Regions from separate parts of the Homo sapiens genome. Here region 2 is linked to region 1. Evidence: promoter capture Hi-C in human tissues and cell types (Jung and others, 2019). All regions are on one chromosome and are shown on one strand. The core of a region is centred on a gene start or on the middle of the fragment in contact, and the rest is flanking DNA. Distances in the headings are between cores, read along the strand shown.

Region 1 (4,705 bases), core at 1,298-3,797:
AAGGATTGCCAAAGTCCACGGTAGACATTTGGACCTCTGAGTGTCTCTCACCATTTCCCTGTATTGGGGAGTCTCTTGGCTCCTAGCCAGCAATGGCAGAGCAGGTCATCTTCACTCCCCTCTTCTTGCTTTTGGTATTCCCTGTTACTTTTCTGTTAAATTCTCATGTTTTTTGACCTATTCAAAGTGTGATTACTCACTAATTTTGGTACTTTTAGTGGAGGAGGCAAGTGGGAAGTGCTTCTAGTTATTCATCTTAATACCCTTCCTCCTATTTATCACAATTGAAGCAAAGAACTTGAGACAATGTATTGTTGAAAAGAGAGCCATATAGACAGAAGAGTTTAGAAAATACCACTTTTGAAGTCTATTGAGAACAATTAGCAATATAGTGCTAATCACAAAAAAAAGGGGTGAGAAAAAATAAAGTACCTAGCTGTGCTAAGGACATTAATATGGGACAGATACTATTTTAAGTCCTTTACATTTATTATCCCCTTTAAATTAGAGACAAATATTATCTCCATATTATAGAGGGAGGATCTGAGATGTAGAAAGGTTAAGAACATTCCTATTTTCACAAAGGTAATTCATGCCAGTGCCAGAAACTGAACCCAGTCATCTTATCTAGTAGCCTGGTATACTGTCACCCCACTGTGGTAAAGCTATTATGTCAGAGAAAAAAATGAGTTATTTTACGTAGTCACTGAAAGCTGAAGGAGGGGGAAAATAAAAACCAATAAACACAAACTTTAAAACTATTCAAATAAAAGATCATTTGAAAGAATGGCCAAACAGAAAATATTCCGATGGGAGACAATTAAATCTCTATTTTTGAGCCATTAAACATAAAACAGCTTCTACTGTAATCTCTAACTTTTTAAACATGGTTAAAGTAAATATTGCTGTATCTCCTAAGTTCCCCCCACCATGTCCTGTGATTCAATATGAAAACACTGATTTTCTTGAGAGAATAAATCTATACATACCACATGTTTTAATCCAGAATCCTCAAAGCTGGTTGCTGGACTTGCTTGTAATTACTTGGACATGTTTCTTGTAAAGCCTAATTTCCCTCAGTTAAGCCACAGAGCTTATTGTCTGCTGTATTATTATTTACTAATGTAAGAGGCTGAGAATATATTTATGAATTTTAACAAATAAGGATTATAAAATATTAGTTTATTATTAATGTGAAATGCTTAAATGTAAACATGAAAACCATTTAAAAAGAATATTTACACAATGTTAATTTCAAATTAGCACAAATACTACTACATATACTATATAAAAATGAAAATAATCAGTTATATTTATATACTAAACAAATATAATTTTTCTAGCACCTTTTTATTAGATTTTGGAATTTTTTACTTTTGAAAAAAAGTAATGCTCCAAAGATGAAAGTTACTTTTGCTAAATGAAGTTATAGTTTTCAGTGTGAACTGACTGGTAAATTTTATTAACTACTTATTTAGACATTTTTAGTTCTACTCAAAATTGTATTATCATATGTCTTCTGTCATATTGTTGGTGTTTATACAAACTGACAATCTGTTTCATTTTTTTCATTTGTCAAATGTTTTGGAAAATATAGTTCCTTTTAATACCTTTGCAGAGCATTATAATGAAAGTATTACAATTAGAGGCACATTGCATTTTTAGCATTTTAGATGAAGATATTCTGTACAACCAAAGTAAAAATTTATCATTTTTCTTTAATATCCTTTGACTCTGAGCCTTAATAGCTCTTAAAATTGTAATTTCTATTTTGTAACTTTTCTGATCTTTATAAGAAGTTCATGTATTTATACTAAATTCTCTATAGATATATGAAAGTATTTAAAGGGACGGTTTGTAAATACTGGGAATTCATACCACTAAGATGGACAAAGTTATTCCTAATAATAAGAAAGAAGAAAATACGTTTTTGCTTTTGATATTTACCTTCCTTTTCTGCCTTTTTTGGGGTAAATAAATTGTTTCAATACGTTCTATTATATTTAGAGCTAAAATGGACAGTATTAAGAAAAGCTAATACAGTCCTGCCATTTTCCTTAGGAGGAAAGTAAGTCCCAATAAGCTGAATAATGGCTGAGACAGGTGCCCTGGTTCATAACTCAGGTCTTCTCCACTCCGCTACCCCTTGTTATTCCCTCAAAGGGAAGAGACTGAACATTTCTAATGAACAAATAAGAAGTGCCATCAGTGTGCTCTAGTGTGTTTTGTTTTGTTGGTTTTTTTTTTTTTTTGGAAAGCAAACTGGGGCCACACCTCAATGCTTATCATACTTCCCCAACTGGAAAAGTGTGGTCTTCTGAATCATCACAAGTTGCACATTCTGAGCCCTCTACTACTTGGAGCTTCTCTATGCGGATATTGACAATTACTTCACTGTGTGGAGCCAGTTGGCACAAAACTGATCATGTTCTTGTTCTTATCAGGCTAGAAGACTGCATACCTCACTCACTAAACCTGTCAAACTTGTTTCCTTTCTTGTTGCCAGTGACTGTCATTATTTTGCAGCCTCCAAGTCCTAACCTGCTGATACAGATCAGATGGTGACTGAATAGAAGCTGCCCCAGTCCTGGGTTCATGATGTACGCGTAAGTATTCAGCTTTTCTCAGTAAAGGTTATCAGTGGGGACAGAGGTTTACAATTCCTGAGACAGGTAGTACAGATGTTGGCTGGTGGAGATTGATTTAAACATTAGAGTTTTAATGTGTGTTATTGTATTTTATATTAAAGTTTTATTGTTGTTGTTTTTAAATATCAGAATTTTTTTGAACAACAGAGGCCAATGTGGTGTTTTTTGTTTCTAAATAAAAGAAATAGAAATGATGTGAGGTAATAAGTTAACTATATTAATATTTAAAACATTTAGTAAAACCTACACTTCAAAGAATAAAGTGTTTAATATAGCCCATTTAGTTACTTTTCCATGTTCCATAGCATGGTATACATTTTTATCATATGTTGCTTATTGATGTATATTCTGGGAAAATTAAATATAAATTTAAGAGGAGAGTCTACTAGAATTTTTATTTAACTCTAATAGAAACTATGATAGGTTATTTTGTATATCATGAGTGAAATGATTAAAATTAAAATACTCATATGTAAAAAATTATCAAATTAACAAAATCTAGACTTTGTATCATCATAATTGAACTCCAAAATAATTGATCAATTGTTGAATTTAAGGTAAATAAATTTGTATTATATATTTATGTTTAGGTAATATTCAGGCTATTGTTTTATAGACTTCGAAAGGAATAATTGATATTTGATGGATGATTTCATTCAAACTTGTGCTAAGTCTAGCCTTGTTTCTTAAAAAGGTTCTCGATCTTTCTACAGACACAAATTTCCCACATGTTCTGCACTGACTGATGTTTCCAACTTAATCATGATTTTGTGATAATTTTAATTGTTCAGTCATTTGATTTTGTCTTCAATTAACCTAAATACTTAAAGCCTGTAGGCTCTGGCACTCTTAAATGATGAGTGTTCCTGCCCTCCCTAATTTACTTTCAAATGACAGCATAAGCCTAAGGAAGACTTCCATTTCATGCATAAATCTCCCATATAAACCCATCATGATAGCATGATATAGCATATTATCTGTACTTCTTACTAAATACAACAAAGTATATTTCTTATTTATCAAGATAAAGACAGAATAAGACAAAACGTACAGTAGAAAAAACTTTTATATTTAACTAACATTCATATAAATATAATATGCTAAAAATTTCTTTAAAAAATTAGAAAAATTTGGAGTTCTCTTATTCTAATTTATTTCAGAATTCTTCAGTAAGTGTTTTTTATCAGCCTGATTCTTCTCTTCCCAACTTACGGCATCATCTCCAAACACTCACTTTTCCACCCTGAAAATATCATTACAACATGAAATTTCTATATTGAAGCCTCGTCAGCTTTGATCCAGAGTTTATTAGAGTTCTGAGGATTTTTTGGTTTTATTATTAAGTTGACATATAATAATTCTACGTATTTATGGGGTACATAGCACTATTTCAGTACATGTAATATATAGTGATCAGATCAGAGTAATTAGCATATCCATCATCTCAAACATTTATTATTTGGAGGATTTAAAATATTCTTGCTAATTAGATTTCAAATCAGATCTGCTTTTAAAACAAATATTCTGTCAAAAAATATATCTTGTGTATAAAGATAAGAAGCTTAGACAGTGGATTTATTGAATTCATTAGTAAAGGTATTTTGCCCAAGGGATCTAGTCTCAAAGAATGAATTAGTCAGATAGACTATGGCCTCTTAGCAAAAGCCCTGTCTTTCTCATTTTGGTAAAGTAGAAAGAGTACCATCATTTAGATGTGTTCAAGATCCAACTTTGAACTCTTTTGTCTGGTACTTCTCAAGACCTCACTTTTATCTGTGAAATGTGGGGAAGGTTTATAAGTAAATGAATGAGGGGTGAGGTTGTTACCATTAATGGGCCTTGAAGTAATATTTGTGGATAGCTAAAAGCAATTTTTGGTTTATTGGTTTATTCTTTGGTTTATTTTGGTATTGTTCATTTGTTGTTGGTGTATTTAAATAGTAATAAAATAAGATTTGTATTAATTTTATTTTTTTCTGTATCTTAAGTATTAGTGTAAATATTGTATTATGGATATATGATTCAGATTCAGATTCATATATAGACAGTACACATAC
Region 2 (4,705 bases), core at 865-3,364, 97 kb after region 1:
TGGGAGGCTGGATTGAAGTCCAGGCCAGGAACAATGGTAATTGTGGGAGACTCAACAAAGAGTGAATATAGCTGAAGGAGCCGGGGAGCAGAAAGTATATGCATCAGGTGTGAGAAAGAAAACAGATTTTGGAAGTTATGAGAACTGTAGAGAATGAGTTGAATATAGTTTGTGATTTTGAGGGCCTTTAAAAGTATTAGGGCAGTGGCAGCTGCTGCATGGAGACATGATGGCCAGCCTAAAACAGTAAGGTCAAGATGTTTGGACAAAAAGGCTACAGGGTGCGGTCCCAGTCCTCGTGTAAGAATTCCCACTGCATAGCCCTGCACTTCCACTGTGTGTAATGAAGAGGGTTGGGATGAGTCAGGAAGAGCTAGTGTGGGAGCAGTCTCTAAAGCTGTCTTCAAGGAATGAAAGGAGGAGTGGGGAAAAGATTTAGGATCTACAGGGTCAGCTAGGTTTCCTTTTGTGAGTTTATATAACGGTTTTGTTAAGATGGCAAAACCAGATATCCAAAGGCAAAAGTATCTAACCATGCCCAGGAAGGAAAGGAGTTGTTTTGTAGAAGGGGTTGGGGTTTGAGACATCAGTCAGACATGATTGGCAGGGAGGGTATGTGTGTTTTTATGAAGAATTATGCCGAGGTAGGTAACAGAGAAGAAATTTGAGCTTTGGAGGGGGATACTGGATATCCCTTGGAGAATAAGTGTTGAAGGAGCAGGAGGTTGTCTTGTTGAGAAGATTCAAAGCAGGAGCTACAAAGTAGAAGGCCATCAATATTTTGAATAAGGTGAGAAGCAGAGGGGTGGAAAGAAAGTAAATTATGAGAAAGAGCTTGGCTGAAGTAATGAGGGCTGTCCCTGAAGCCTTGTGGTAGTACACCCCAGGTAAGCTGCTGGGACTGATGGGTGTCAGGGTTAGTCCAGGTAAAAGCAAAGAGAGGCTGGGACAAGGGGTACAGGGGAATAGTGAAAAAAGCATCTTTAAGATCAAGAATGGAATAGTGAGTTGTGGAGGAAGGTATTGAGGACAAAAGAGTGTATGTGTTAGGCACCACAGGGTGGATAGGCAAAACAATTTAGTTGATAAGGTGCAGATCCTGAACTAACCTGTAAGATTTGTCCAGTTTTTGGACAGGTAAAATGGGGGAATTGTAGGGAGAGTTTATAGGCTTTAAAAGGCCATGCTGTAACAGGCGAGTGATAACAGGCTTTAATCCTTTTAAAGCCTCCTGTGGGATGGATATTGGCATTGGCATTGAGTGGGGTAAGGGTTATTAGGTTTTAATGGGATAGTAATGGGCGTGTGGTTGCCAGGGAGGGAGTAGAGGCATCCCATACCTGTGGATTAAGATGGGGAGATACAAGGGGAGGATGCGAAGGAGGCTTTGAACTGGGGAAAAGAGTGGCAATGAGGTGTGGCTGTAGCCCAGTAATAGTCAGGGAAGCAGATAATTTAGTTAAAATGTCTCGGCCTAATAAGGGAACTGGGCAGGTGGGGATAACTAAAAGGGAGTGCATAAAAGAATGTTGTCCTAGTTGGCACCAGAGTTGGGGAGTTTTAAGAGGTTTAGAAGCCTGGCCATCAATACTCACAACAGTTATGGAGGCAAAGGAAACAGGCCCATGAAAAGAAGGTAATGTGGAGTGGGTAGCCTCTGTATTGATTAAGAAGGGGACGGACTTACCCTCCACTGTAAGAGTTACCTAAAGCATCTTTGATGGTCCAGGAGGCTTCTGAGGTGATCGGGCAGCTTCAGTCTTCAGCTGCTAAGCTGAGAAGATCTGGGAAGGAGTCAGTCAGAGAGTCTTGGGCCAGAGTTCCAGGGGCTCTGGGAGTGGTTGCCAGGTGAGTTGGACAGTCCGATTTCCAGTGGAGTCCCTCATAGATGGGATACAGCTTAGGAGGGATCCCGGGCCACAGGCATTCCTTGGCCCAGTGGCCAGATTTCCAGCACGTGAAGCAAGATCCTGAGGGATGAAGTCCTGAAGGAACACCTGGCCACTGTGGTTTAGGCATTTTGAAGTTCTTGTGTGCTGGAGATGTGGCTAGGCTTTCTCTCAGAGAAGAGGCAAGTAATTGCAACTCTTCTCTATTATTGTACACCTTGAAGGAGAGGTTAAGTCCTGTTGTGGGGTTTGAGGGCCAGAATCTAATTTTTGGAGCTTTATTTAATGTTGGGAGCAGATTGGGTAATAAAATGCATATTTAGAATGAGACGGCCTTCTGACCTTTCAGGGTCTAGGGCTGTAAAGCGTCTCAGGGTTGTTGCCAAATGAGCCATGCACTGGGCTGGGTTTTCATATTTGACGAAAAAAAGCCTAAATGCTAACTGATTTGGGAGAGGTCGGATAAAGAAAAAGGAGCATTAACCTTGACTATGCCTTTAGCTCTAGCCACCATTTTTAAAAGGAAATTGTTGGGAGGTGGGGGAGGGCTAGTCGCGGAACAAAACTGTAAGCCAGACTGGGTGTGGGGAGAGGAGGTGATAGAAGGATTATAGGGTGGAGGAGCGGAAGCTGAGGAAGAATTGGAGCCTGACTCAGCCTGGCGGGGAGTTACCTGAGGAGGAGCAATCTTGGGATGAAGGGAGAGGTCAGATGGGTCGGTAGAAAAGGAAGATTGAAAGCAACGCTTGGGGTTGGGACTGTGGGGACAGGTGGGAGGGAAAGAAGAAAGGTTTGGGATGAGTCGCACTGGGAGCAGAGATTAGGAAGAGACTGATGTGTAAAAGAATGCCTGGACGTCAGGCACCTCAGACCATTTGCCCATTTTATGAGAAGAATTATCTAGATCTTGTAGGATGTAAAAATCAAAAGTGCCATTTTCTGGCTATTTGGAACCATTGTCGAGTTTGTGTTGGGGTTAAGCAGCATTGCAGAAGAAAATAAGGTGTTTAGGTTTTAGGTCAGGTGTGAGTTGAAGAGGTTTTAAGTTCTTGAGAACACAGGCTAAGGGAGAGGATGGAGGAATGGAGGGTGGAAGGTTGCCCATAGTGAAGGAGATAAGCCCAGAGTAAAGAGAGGGTAGAGACACAGAGATAAGGGGTGGGGGGTGCTTGCCCCCCCCCAGGAAAGTGATACTTGCCACTAAGGGTGAAGGATCAAGGCAGGCGTCCCCACAGTGATCAGACACCTCTGAAACGTGGGTGAATAATCAAGCAGGCATCCCCTCAGTCATTAAACACCAAGCGAAGACTGTCTTCCCAAGTCCATGACTGGCGCTGGAGTTTTGGGTTCACAGATAAAACGTGTCTCCTCTGTCTCTACCAGAAAAGGAAAGGGATTGAAATGAAGGGAGAGATTGAAGGGTGACACAGAAATTGAAAGGAGAAAGAAGTTGAGGGATAGTGAGAGAGGTTGGAGAAGAGAGTAAAAAGAAGCCGCTTACCTGATTTAAAATTGGTGAGATGTTCCTTGGGCTGGTTGGTCTGAGGATTCGATGTCGTAGGTGGATCTTTCTCATGGAGCAAATAGCAGGAGGACAGGGGATTGATCTCCCGAGGGAGGTCCCCCGATCTGAGTCACAGCACCAAATGTCATGTGCGTCCATGTGAAGAGACCACCAAACAGGCTTTGTGTGAGCAATAAAGCTTTTTAATCGCCTGGGTGCAGGAGGATGAGTCCAAAAAGAGAGTCAGCAAAGAGAGATAGGGGTGGGGCCATTTTATAAGATTTGGGTAGGTAGTGGAAAATTATAGTCAAAGGGGGTTGTTCTCCGGCAGACAGGGGAGGGGGTCACAAGGTGCTCAGTGGGGGAGCCTCTGAGCCAGGAGAAGGAATTTCACAAGGTAATGTCATCAGTTAAGGCAGGAACCAGCCATTTTCACTTCTTTTGTGATTCTTCAGTTACTTCAGGCCATCTGGATGTATATGTGCAGGCTTGGGCTCAGAGGCCTGACAAAAATTACTCAGGATGATGAGGGAATTACCAATATCTTTTCTAGTGGTGTTTAACCAGAGTTGCACTTTGTTTTTCCATTGTTAATAATATTTCTATATATAAAATTCAATTAAATGTATGGATCTCTAGATCACAGTCCTCCTAACAGATTTTACTCAGTACGATCATTAAAAATGTTCCTCTTTCACCTGCTCATCTTAAAGTCACAAATTAAGATTTAGGTTGTTAAAAACAAATAACCAAAAAACACTTTCCACACTTAACACATTAAGATTTACTTTTAAAATGGACAGTAATAGAAACAATTATTTTTATTTATTATTATTTTTATTTTTACTTAAAATGATCTCTAATCTGTAAGGAAAAAGCTGATTATGTCATACCAATAAAAATAATTTAGTCCTTTTTATCTCTTTAATATCTTTAATAGTCATGCCTTTATTCAAGTTCTATTATGTTCCAGCACCATTCTTGCCACTGTGGTGATGGGCAGGTTGGGGGGACATAGGAGTGAAAAACACAGTTCTTTGAGGGTTATGTGAATGTCAATTCTGTAGAATGGTTAGTTCAAGGAAAAAGAGACATACCAGAAGTGTAAAGAAACAAATGAAAGTTACATAAATAGAAAGAGAAAGGAAAAGTAGAGTGGAATAAAAATCTGGGAAAAGCAAAAGATCTATGGCTGGTCAATAGCCCAAGAACTCATTTAAACTTCTGCATTTCTGTTACCTTTCAAGATTTTTAAAGTTATCTTCTCCTGGTCCTAAATCTTTTTGAAAACTCCGCATTCCCATTCTCTATG

The links. Contacts are between HindIII fragments. The study calls those that stand out against the background at their distance.
Region 2: a contact is called between a fragment that was not itself captured here and the fragment with the promoter of TMPRSS11F in region 1, in 2 of the 25 tissues and cell types used here (H1 embryonic stem cells and stomach).

The regions. Positions count from the first base shown.
Region 1 is chr4:68,127,711-68,132,415 of GRCh38, reverse strand. It overlaps TMPRSS11F (transmembrane serine protease 11F), which reads left to right and starts at 2,547. Exons shown (of 10, transcript NM_207407.2): 1 at 2,547-2,606. The coding sequence starts at 2,596. The HindIII fragment of the contact is 14,883 bases long and covers 1-4,661 here.
Region 2 is chr4:68,030,143-68,034,847 of GRCh38, reverse strand. No RefSeq gene overlaps it. Among named protein-coding and RNA genes, the nearest start is that of TMPRSS11A, 69 kb to the right of the region's middle. The HindIII fragment of the contact is 8,743 bases long and covers 1-4,705 here.